Linked DNA regions of Homo sapiens: all the other regions are linked to region 1. Evidence: promoter capture Hi-C in 16 types of primary human blood cells and fetal thymus (Javierre and others, 2016). All regions are on one chromosome and are shown on one strand. Each heading gives the region's core, a stretch centred on a gene start or on the middle of the fragment in contact. The rest is flanking DNA. Distances are from core to core; before and after follow the strand shown. Region 1 holds the start of CETN2 (centrin 2). Region 2 has its middle 10 kb from the start of HAUS7. Region 3 holds the start of ZFP92 (ZFP92 zinc finger protein). Region 4 has its middle 16 kb from the start of CCNQ.

The links. Contacts are between HindIII fragments. The CHiCAGO score rates a contact against its expected background, and 5 or more counts as called.
Region 2: a contact is called between a fragment that was not itself captured here and the fragment with the promoter of CETN2 in region 1, in 1 of 17 cell types (neutrophils). The highest score is 5.4, in neutrophils.
Region 3: a fragment that was not itself captured here is called in contact with the fragment with the promoter of CETN2 in region 1 in 1 of 17 cell types (monocytes); the score reaches 5.1 in monocytes.
Region 4: a fragment that was not itself captured here is called in contact with the fragment with the promoter of CETN2 in region 1 in 1 of 17 cell types (neutrophils); the score reaches 7.4 in neutrophils.

Annotation. Positions count from the first base shown.
Region 1 is chrX:152,829,077-152,832,038 of GRCh38, forward strand. It overlaps CETN2 (centrin 2), which reads right to left and starts at 1,681. Exons shown (of 5, transcript NM_004344.3): 1 at 1,632-1,681; 2 at 526-684; 3 at 73-201. The coding sequence starts at 1,634. NSDHL (NAD(P) dependent 3-beta-hydroxysteroid dehydrogenase NSDHL) reads left to right here and starts at 1,987. Exons shown (of 8, transcript NM_015922.3): 1 at 1,987-2,041. RefSeq lists a silencer at 1,581-1,920. The HindIII fragment of the contact is 2,163 bases long and covers 800-2,962 here.
Region 2 is chrX:153,479,590-153,482,289 of GRCh38, forward strand. It overlaps a transcript of HAUS7 not described here and the pseudogene ECMXP. Among named protein-coding and RNA genes, the nearest start is that of HAUS7, 10 kb to the left of the region's middle. The HindIII fragment of the contact is 5,581 bases long and covers 1-2,700 here.
Region 3 is chrX:153,408,688-153,411,510 of GRCh38, forward strand. ZFP92 (ZFP92 zinc finger protein) reads left to right here and starts at 2,785. Exons shown (of 6, transcript NM_001136273.2): 1 at 2,785-2,823. It also overlaps a transcript of PNMA6E not described here. RefSeq lists a silencer at 2,581-2,823. The HindIII fragment of the contact is 738 bases long and covers 1,008-1,745 here.
Region 4 is chrX:153,613,508-153,616,255 of GRCh38, forward strand. No RefSeq gene overlaps it. Among named protein-coding and RNA genes, the nearest start is that of CCNQ, 16 kb to the left of the region's middle. The HindIII fragment of the contact is 1,391 bases long and covers 634-2,024 here.

The DNA.
Region 1 (2,962 bases), core at 431-2,930:
TAACAGGAAGACGCCATGGACCTCTGCAGATGACTGGGGCTCCATACCATGATAATTGTCTTAGCTACTTACCATTTTCTGGGTCATCACAGTTAAAAAGTCACCAAAGTTCATTTTTCCTGTCCCTTCCTTATCAATTTCACTTATCATTTTCTTAATTTCTTCTTTCTTGGGTTCAAAGCCCAGGGCCCTCATTGCCACCTATAAAGAAAACAGGATCGTCTCAATAAGCACATCTAAAGTAGCAGGAGCAAAAATAACAGTGTTGAGAGCATTAAGCCAGCATCTGATGTGGTCATGTTAATATGATTGGGGAACACTATGACATTGATCTAATTGATATTTGCAATCAATTTTATTGAATAATACTCAAAGTAAGTAAAGACAGGAAAACAGCACAGTACAACCTCCCCTGTTACTTACTGCAGGGAGAAGAGGGCAAAAGGGGTAGAGAGGTGATAGGGAGATGACAAGGAAGAGGCAGAGGAAAGGAAGGGCAGTACGGCAGGAATGCACAGAGCTTGCCTTCAGTTCTTTAACATCTATGGTGCCAGTTCCATCCGCATCGAAAAGATCAAAAGCTTCCCGGATCTCCTGCTTTTGCTCTTCAGTAAGCTCAGGCTTAGGGCTCATTCTTTTTCGCTGAGAACTTGATGCCATGTTTGCCTTCTTAAAGTTGGAGGCCTTTATATGTTATGCAATACACAAGCACAATAATATATCATACAGTCCATATTTACATAACATAGTTACAGACACCCATATGTATTTTTAAAGTCATTTATATAACCAATTCCAAAGCTTTGCTTAAAAAGAAAGATAACAGGGTTTACTGGCAAGAACAATGAATCTTTCCATGAACTTCTACCCCTCCCTTTTCTTTACTGTTGTTTCTAGAAGCAGGGAGATCACTTGTTCAGTAAGGACACCTCTTACTGAAAATCATCCCAAAAGAGAGCCAGTCAAGAAGATGACTGTGAATAACTAGAGATAATCAGCTCTTCCCGAACGTGGGGATCCTGGTTCTGAAAACAGTCTTACGATGCCCACTCCCAGTACTCCCCTTCCCAGTAAGTACTCCGACTTCCCAATTACTTCTAGATTTGGCCAAATATTAGTAAGTTGTTAAGATGTATATTGTGTCAGTACCGAGTAATAAAACTCAATCCATCTGGCACCTTCGTGCCTTCTCCAAGAAGCTAAAGCATCCCCTGAATGCCCCTGTATTTAAATTGTAAAAAACATTGTAACAGAACACGATACACCTTTTCCCAGCTGTGTGTGGAAATTTTGGCAGAATGAGGAGGCCAGGGGGCCAAGGTCTGAGAGAGTCAGGGGCCTGTGAGGGATTCGAGTCTTTTTTGCCCAGGGAGGTTCACCGAGGGGATCAGGGAATGCAAGGGGAGCCCGAGGGGCGGGTGTGGGCCTGTTGTGGGTGAAGAGGAGGCAGCAGCGAAGCGCAGGCCCAGTAGGTTGGTTAGCGTCTGTACCCTACTCTCCCGGGAAAGAGCTCAAAGGAAAGACTGGTGCGCTAAAGCCGAGAAAGGCGCAGGAGAGGCGGCGTGGCCGAGCTGGGGCCTGGGAAGGGCTCAGCCGCTGGGCGTGGGGCGCGACAGAGCGGCAGCACTCACCATAGCCAAAGGAGTCCGCTGCCGGTTGTTAGGCAACCGACGTGTACACTGACTCGGCGCCGTTCCCACCGCCCCGCGCGCGCAGCCCCGCTCCCCATTGGCCGTCCGCTCGTCGCCGCCTCTCCCTATTGGTGCAGGGCCGAAGAGGGTGGGACTAACCTGGCAAAGCCCCGGCCCAGCGCGGGGAGGGGCACGCTGGCGACAGAGCCCCGTCTTTATTGGGCAAGATCACGCCGTGAGCGCCAATTGGCTGAGTCGTCGCCGAGCTGGGCCAATCCTCTTGGTGGAGGAAGCTCGGCTGATTCTCGGCTCACGCGGGAGGGGAGTAAAGGGTGGCGGTCCGGGCCTGGAGTTCAGTGGGTGCAGCCTGCTTGCGAGCTGAGGCCAGACAGGGGGGCGCCTACGGACGGGTAAGAGTCGTGGCCTTGCCATTGGAGGTCACCCTGTGTCAGCGACTGGGCAGTGCGGGAGGGTGGGGAGCTACGGGGTCGCCCGGGTCGGGTGCTTTCTGGGTTGACCTAAGGCTGAGTTTAGGGACCGAGTGCATCAGAGCAGCCAGAAACGATTACCTTGCGTGTTGGAGCAGGGACTGTACTCACGGGGCAACTGAGACCCGGAGAGGGGAAGGGGTGTGCTGAGTGTTGTCGCAGAGGTCGGACGGCTGGGACCTAGGAACTGAATCCAGCCGAGGCTCGCTCTTTGAGGGTGGCCCTTCGAGAGCACCCCTAGACTGACCCAGATGTATAGGCCCCAGACCAGGTTCCAAGAGAGGATCACTTTAGATCTTACCTGGCTAAAAGCAGCCCAGGACGGTGAACTGGGGCCTTTGGGAACGGACTTTGAAAGGAGTGAGGGGGATGTGAGCGAGCATGAGGGGCGGGGAGAGGTCATCAAAATATACTCTTTTTGACACCCACACAATGCAGATAAGGAGGAGCATTCCAGGCCGAGACGCCCTCATCAGCAGAGTCACAGGAGTTTTGGAAGTGAGAGGTATGCTTGGAGAATTAAAAGGGAGCGTGTGCAAGGGCTGTGGACTGACATAGACCTGCAGAAGTGGAGCTGGAGGTCCAGTTTGCCCTCTTTAGCTATCCCCGTGGCTTTTAGCCTTCACCTGTTTTTCCTCCAGGCATAGGGGCAGTAATCTAGGGAGACAGAGGGCAGAGAGTAAGTTTCTCAGACAGAGAAAGGCCCGAGGCTTATTAGAACCTTTTAAATGGAGCTGCTGCCCTTTGCCCTCTTCTCTCTTCAGCAGTGAACAGATTCCTGACTTTTGGGTCATCATCATCCCCCCAAGTAGTACGAGCCAGAGTTCTCACTGTGATCTCCAA
Region 2 (2,700 bases), core at 83-2,582, 650 kb after region 1:
GGGGTGTGCTGGGGAGGAGTTGCTCTGGCTGCCCCAGTGCCTCCTGAGACAGGAAGAATCTCAGGTGGCTGGGAGTATAGGGCTTGGGGGTGAAGTGGGGTTGCTGGCAGAGAGGGGCTTGAGGGGCCCGAGGACATGGGCTATGAGTGTGGCCTTTGTCTTATAGGCCAGTGGTTGTAGCCACACTTGGTGGCCCTGCCCCAGGCTTGGGGGTAGGGCGGGAGGGGCCAGGTGGGTGGGTCTGCCCCTCACCCCTGCAGACAGAGCGGTGCCCCCCATGGTTGGCCCTGGTTAAGGAGGAGCTGCTCCATAGAGGACAGGAGGCATTGGGGTTATCAACATTCCTCCAAAGTGGCTCACAGACCCCTTGAGGTGGCCCCTGGGCTTGCCTAATCCCCAACAAACCCCCTGTAGCAGACACTGGGGCTTTCACTTCTAAAAGCAAATTGTGCCAGGTCGCAGCGACCCCTTCATCTCCCCAGAAGCTGTCCCTAGGAAGCACGTGTGAAGTCCTTGCTCACTAATGGGTATGGGGCAAAGGGGATGCTGGGGAAACGCCCTACCCCCCACCCTTGGGACACACTGGGGAAGTGAGGGGAGGTGGGACCCAAGGTCCCTTGAGCAGCCCAAGGCTTTCTACCCAGGGCTGCTGAAGCTCCCTGGGCCCAACCACCGGTCCAACCCCTGGGCCTAACCTATAGGCCCAGCCCCTTAGCCCTAATGGGCCTAGAGCGCCACCCACCCCCCTCCCCAGCAGTGAGGAGCTGTGTAAGTTCTGAGAGGTACTCTGGGTTACTGGCCCCAGGGGCTGGTGGCCTGCTGCTGACGGTGGGGACACTCTGTTCTCTCGCCAGTGCTCCTCAGGAGGTAAGGGAAAGGCGGGGCGGGGGGAGGCCTGGGTAAAGAGGAAGGGCGATGGGCTTTCTAGCAGCTGACAGCCCCTTGGGGAAAGGAGGCAAGGCCCCCAGCCCACACTGGCTCCTTCCGCAGGTCAGCTGCAGCCCATCCCTGGCATCGGCCACCCAGACAAGCCTGAGGCTGGGAAGCTGGACCAGTTGCGGGATCAGCCCACCCCGAAGCAGGGAGCTCAAGGAACCCCCACCCAGTCCCCCTCCACTGGCTGGAAAGCGCTTCCCAGGCCAGGGCTGGCCCTGAGGAAGGAGTCACCCCCAGTGACCTTGGAGCAGGAGCAGGGTCACAACAAGGGCCTGGTCGCTGAGTGGGCTCAGCCCCAGGCCACAGCTGCCATGAGGGCTGGGGCAGGGAAGCCCGAGGCCTTGAAGCTGAGGCCCTGGCAGGCCGGCAGGGACCCTCAAGCTCAAGAGGGGGCAGCAGTCACCGAGGAGGACCAGGGCCAGAGGACAGGAGGCCGGGAAGACAAGGGAAGGGGCCTGAAACCCAGGAGGCCCCCCAAAGGTGAGAACTGGCCAGGACAGGCGGCCTTCAGGTGGGGCCTGGGGCCTGCTGGGGCTGACAGGACCACGCATGAGTTTGGCCACCCAGGCACTGCCCCGTTCCCGGTGTTTCCAAGCCAAGTGCCCTCGTGTGTGGGGTGGGAGGGAAGCCCTCCAAAGTCACGTCCCCTCCCCAGCCTCAGAGCCCCCATTTGGGCCTTTGCCCTTGGTGCCAAGGGGAGGGGTCCCAGTAACCTGTCGCTCCAACCCAGGCTGGCTGAGTCACTGGCAGGCCCTGGGAGCCTCGGGCAAGCCCCTGTTCCTCAGTAGGGCCCCTGTTGCTTGTGACCCAGCAGGGGCTGTCTCTCTTCCTCCAGGGACCTCCCATCAACCTGGGCTGAGGATCCGGCGCCCACAGAAGGACCGCAGCCGAGGCCAGGGTGGCGGCGGCAGCACCTCCAAGACCCCAGGCCATGGGTGGAAAAGACCAGGAAGCACACATGGGCACAGGCACAGGCACGCAGACCTGGGCACCACCCAGCAGGCCATGCCCTCTCTGCCGGCCTCGTGCCTCCTGGCCCAGGCAGTCATCGCCTGTGGCAATGTCAAGATGAAGCATGTCCCTGCCCTGACCCACCCTGGTCTGACCACACTCTACCTGGCAGGTGGGTGGCCTCCTCGCCCCACACCCACCCCTGCAGCAGGGGTGAGAAGGCTGAGACCTGGGCTCCCACCCTGGCTCCCCTGAGCAGCCCTGTCTGGTGTGGGAGGTACAGAGTGGCAGCGGGCAGGGGGCAGAGAATATGGCTGCCCCATGTGCGCACAGAGAATGAAATTGCCAAGATCCCAGCCCACACGTTCCTGGGGCTGCCCAACCTGGAGTGGCTGGATCTCAGCAAGAACAAGCTGGATCCCCGAGGCCTGCACCCCCATGCCTTCAAGGTATGCTGTGGCCCATTCACCTCTTCTCGGGGGCCGGGGCTGGGGCTGGGGCTGGCAGGTCCCAGGTGACCTGAGGCATCCACTCACTGCAGGGTGGAGCTGCTTAGGGGGTAAGGCCTGGAGGAGGCACTGCAGAGAGCAGCCAGCATGGTGGGCTTCCACAATTTGGTGTGACGTGTTCCATCGCTGGGAGTAGGGGGAGCAGCACAGGCTTGCAGGCCCTGTATAGGAGCAAACAGAAACCTTCCCAGACAGGCCTGGATTCAGTGGGAACTAGGAAGCCATGATGCCACCAACAGAGTGCCCTTGGTCAGGATGGGCCCAAAGCCATGCCCAGGAAGGCCTGTGCCCCGACCAGCAGGCC
Region 3 (2,823 bases), core at 127-2,626, 580 kb after region 1:
GTTGCAAAAACAGCTCATCCAGTCCAGACACACATCCTGTCCCCACAGGAGCTCACAGTCGCCATCACCCTCAGTGGATATCTGAGGCTGGCAGCATATTCCCAAGGCTCTGCATGCAGCCCAAGACCACCTCCCTCCAAGGGCACTCCAGCAGAGCAGTCAGCCACAGCCCAGCTGACCCCTGGGAGAGGTGCCGCCCTGACCCCTGCCCTGCTGTGAAGGTGGCTTACAGCCCCCTTTGGCCTGGCCTTCCCCAACTTGCTCACTCACTTCCCACAGACAGCTTGACGTCACCCTGGACCTCCCTGCTGGGCCCCTGGGCACCTGCTGTGGCTTGGGAGACCGGCTGCCAACCTGCCCCCAGGAGGGGGCTGCCTGTGACCTGGCGGGTGCCCACGGCACAGTGGGCAGCACCACAGCTGTGGGAAAGCGCCCACTCCCCTGCCCCCCGGCTACCTCACCTGCCCGTCCTGGGCCAGCCTAGGGCAAGGGGAGAACGGGAGACCAGAGCTGGGGAGCAGCCAGGCCAGCCGGACTGTGAGAGGGCTAGGTGTGGTGGGAACCCAGGGAGGAAAGGGGACCTCCCCACTTCCAGACCCCAACTCTTCCTCCCCAGGTTCTGAATCCGGGTTTGCTGCCCGGGAGGCCCTGCCCCTGCCTAAAGCAGAGATGGAGATACCTCTCTCAGGAGGCCCCAGGCCTCAGGGCCACAATAAGGGGAGTGGAGAGGAGGAGAGAGGGCCGTGTGAGGACCGCCGGGAGGGCCCGTGTGCCCTGTCATCCTCTCTAGGTTGGGCATGGGTTTGCAGTTCTTTACAGTAAAAAACTGAAAACATGCTGGAAGGGAGATTGATCTCCCGACAGGATCGTGGGCTTGTCAAGGTCGTCTTCACTTGCTCTAGGCGTCGCGCTCTTCAGCTGACCGCGCTGCCGCCTCCACCACCAATGTGTCCACACACGCGGTGCCAACAATGGTGCACACGGTGACCCCTGCTCCCCCATTTCTAAGCTTGTGTGGGACCCGCAGCCCAGTGCACATGGCCCTTTCTCTTGCAGTGGAAGTGGGGTGCACTCCCAGGGGCCCCCTTCCCCTGCCCGAGGCACACACTCCCCAGCCTCCATGCAGGTTGGCCGCTCACACTCTCTGGAAATGAGCCAAGGACAACAGGAGCTGCCTTCCCAAGGTCGCCCCAGTCCCCACCAGGTTACTGGATGATGCGGGTGCAAAGGTCCCCCCGCCCCCTGCCTCCATGGCCCAGGAGGACTCTGGGCTCAGCCTATTCCCTCGTGTCGGAGTGGCCTGGGCTGCCGCAGCAAATGACCACAAACCGCTTGGCTTCAGCCAACAGGAATTGACTCTCCCAGTTCTGGAGGCCGGAGTCCAGAATCGGGCGCTTCCTCCGGTGGCTCTGGGGGTGGATCCACCCACCTCTTCCAGCTTCTGGGGGCCCTGGGCACTCCCCACCTTCGCCTCCACATGGCCTTCTCTGTGTCTCTCTCTCCTGTCTCTTCTAAGGAAACTGTCCTTGGATTTGGGGCCCCCTGGATCATCTGGGTTGCTCTCATCTCCACATCCTCAATTTAATGACATCTGCAGACACCCTTTATTTGCATATAAGGCCCTGATCACAGTGCCTGGGTGTTAAGATATGGATGTATCTTTCAAGGGGCACCAACCAGTCACCCCACAACATCTCAACAGCCCAGATCCCAGCCTGCCCAGCCAGAGCCCCGGTGAAGGGACAAGCTTGGGCACCAGGACACACAGCTGAGGGCCACCGGGAGACTCCCTGCCTCTGCGCCGGGAAAGGGGCTCCGAAGCTCTCCCTGCACTGGGCCCCCTGGGGGCCCTGCTCCCTGCAACCGGAGGTTCCCTGAGCAGCGTCCTCGCCCTTCCCCTATGCCCCAGATGGACGGCTTTTGTTCTGGGAGCGCAGGCTTGCCGAGGGCTCCTTGCTGCGGGCTAAGTGCTCCTGGCCAGGGCCCAGGGTCTCTGAAGAAAAGAAACCCCTGAACTCTGGTTCAAAGGCCAAGGAGGCTCCCGCCTCGTGCTCAGTTCCCAGTGGCCGGGGCTGGGATATGTGATGTGGCTGATTTTTCCCTGTTGCTTTTCTTTTACGGTCTTTTTCATACGCTTCACTATTTGTCAAAGGTCTCACAATTGTCATCAGAGCAATATCCCAACCAACCTTGGATTTCACTCCCTGCTCTACCACGTGGAGCATGACCCTTTGGAAAATGACAAACTCCAGGTGCGATCCCCTCCGGTAACCTGAGGGAAAGCCAGATGCACCCAGAGGGTCTTGGCTTCTTGCACTTCCCTGACCTCCTTTTTCCCCTCCTCGTGTCTCCACACCATGCTCCCTGAGTCACCTTTCACCTCTTCCCCGCTCTCTGATCCTTGCCATCCTGGGTCACTCCTTTACTGAGTGACCATGGCCGGGGTACTTGGTGCTAGCTGCCCTGCAGAGGTCCCGGGGACCCCAGCGAGATGAATAACTGAATGAATGGACGTAATAACGCCCAGGGGTCTAGCCCATGGGAGGTGTTCTGCCAACGCGGGTCCCTCCCGTCCCCTTCAGGAGCCGCGGTGCGCTGACCACTTCGACCCCAGCCTTCAGAGCAGCCCAGACAGAAAGCGGAAGTGCCTCGGGGCGCGTGGGGAGCCAGGCCAGACGCCCCTGTGGGGCGGGCGCGGGGCGGGCCGCCATCCCTCTGCGCCGCGCATGCTCCATGCCCCCCCCACAACGCGCCCCGTTCCCACGCTGCCGCCGCCCCGGCCCCGCCCGCTCCCGGCCCGCTCGTCGGCGCACCAGACTGAGA
Region 4 (2,748 bases), core at 79-2,578, 780 kb after region 1:
GGTCTAGTAGATACTGAGTAGACACAAAAGGACATTTACAAAATATGTGTAAGTGTAAAGAACAATACAACAAACCTCTGTGTACTCACCACCAGCTTAGAAGAAAGGTAACGTTCCCTTTGAAGGACCTTGGGTGACCCTTCTCATTGCCCCATGTCCCCTACCCCCACTTCAGAGGTGACCTTCTGGAATTTTGCATATACCACTCCTGTGTATTTCTTTATAGTTTCACCACCTTTGCATCCCCAAACAATATATTTTTTAGTTTTGCCTGTTTTGAATTTTATACAAATGGAATCATACTGTCTGTATTATTCTGTAACCTGCCTTTCCGCTGAATGTGGTATTCCCGAGACGAAGAGCTGTAATCCATTCTTCCCGCAAGCATTCTGTTCTGTTGTGGGATTAAACTACAACTGATCTCTGCATCATCTGCTTGGTGGAAGGGGGAATTGTTTCCACTTTTTGGGCTGTTACCAGAGTCCTGATGCCCAGCACAAGTTTCACTAGTGGGCATATCCAGAGGAAAATCCCTGGGCCACCAGAAATGTACACTTGCAACTTTGCTGGGCAATGAAAAATTGTTTTCTCAAGTGGTTGTACCAATCCATATGCCCCCCCCTGTAGTATACAAGCTTTCTAGCGGTTTCACAGCCTTGCCAACACTTGATGTCGTCAGACCTTATTTTCCATATGGATAACCAATTGTCCAGCATTATTTATTGAACATCTCCTTCCCCCACTGGCCAGCAATGCCAGCTTTGTCATACATCAAGGTTTTTGTTGTTGTTGTTGTTTGTTTGTTTGTTTTGAGACAGGGTATCACTCTGTCACCCAAGCTAGAGTGCAGTGGCGCGATCTCAGCTCACCACAGCCTCGACCTCCCGGGCTCAGGTGGTCCTCCCACCTTAGCCCCCTGAGTAGCTGGGACTACAGATGCCCGCCACCATGCCTGGCCAATTTTTTGTACGTTTTGTAGAGACAGGGTCTCACCATGTGTTGCCCAGGCTGGTCTCAAACTCCTGGGCTCAAGTGATCCTCCTCTTCAGCCTCGCAAAGTGCTGGGATTCCAGGCATGAGCCACTGTGCCCAGCCCGCACTATCTTAAATATGGCACCTTTATAATAATTCTTAGAATCTGCCGAGGCAACTCCACCCACCTCCTCCTTCTCTCTGTCTTAGCTGTGCCATTTGTTCTTCCATATAGATTTAAGAACCACCTTGTCAAGCTCCGTTTACAAATGGCATTTAGATTACAATTACGTTCAATCTAAAACTTAAATTGGAAAGAACTGGCATGCTCAAAACATTGATTTTTCAGAAAATCCTGGATATCCAAGGTAATGGCAGCCCCTTAAATCTGGAACTCTCAACAGAGCTTCCAAACCAAAATCACTTTTAAAAAGCAAGCACAAATAAACCCACCCAAAACCCATGTCCTCGTCATAATCAGAAGACAGAGAGCATTTGAACTTCAAAGTACCTAAAACAGATCAAGTCACAAGGGTGGGGAAATAGATCCTCACAGGAAATACAAACGGAAACAAGTGAAGCAAACCATATATCGAACAATAACACAACCACCTTGAAAGAGAAAAAAACTCGGCAAGCAACCTGAACACGGTATGGGACTATATGTCCTCGAGTGAAAAACAAAAATAACTCTAGACAAACCTGGAAATCTGCAGAGTAGTTTTCTCCTTTCCAGAGACATGAGTTGATGATTCTGAAACTACTTTCCAAGTATTCTAGGACTGAGCAAATACATAAATATATTTCAGGTAATGGGAGCCAACTTTCTCAGCAAGAGGGAAAGAAGTTACCAACCAGCAAGTAGGAGGAAGACTAGAAGGGACGTGGTGCTGTTGGGTTGAAATTGGATGGGTCAGTATGAACTCATGGTAGATAGATAGATGGATATATATAGAGAGAGAGACAGAGAGAGAGATAGATAGATATGGGACTGTATATACATATATACACATATATGTATGTATTCTCTATGTGTGTGCAATTTCCCAGTAAGCTTCTAAGTGTCATTATCCACTCAAAATGAATTAGGGATCCTAGGAGAAATGGCTGATTCCAGAAAAGGAGACCAGGGAAAGTCAAGATGAGCCTAGAACACCCTGTTCTTCCAGAAAGTAAGAAACCCCCGAGTCCACAGTGATAAAAAGAAATAAGTAGAGTTGTACACTGAATAATGACACTTTGGTCAAAAACAAACTGCACATATGACAGTGTTCCCACGAGATTATAATACTGCACTTTTTTTTTCTTTTTGAGATGGGGTCTCACTCTGTTGCCCAGACTGGAGTGCAGTGGCGTGACCTCAGCTCACTGCAGCCTAGACCTCCCAGGCTCAACCAATCCTCCCATGTCAGCCTCCCTAGTAGCTGGCACCTGCCACCACACCTGGCTATTTTTAAACTTTTTTGTAGAGATTGGGTCTCACTATGTTGGTCAGGATGTTCTTGAATTTCTAGGATCAAGTGATCCTCCCGCCTCAGCCTCCCAAAGTGCTGAGACTACAGGTGTGAGCCACCGTGCCCAGCCTATAATACTGCATTTTGACTGGACCTTTTCTAGGTTTAGACACACAAATACTTACCACTGTGTTAACAGCTGCCTACATTATCATAGTGTACAGGTTTGTAGCCCAGGAGCAATAGGCCATACCATATAGCCTGGGAGTGCAGTAAGCTACACCATCTAGGTTTGCGTATGTGCGCTCTAGGATGTTCGCAC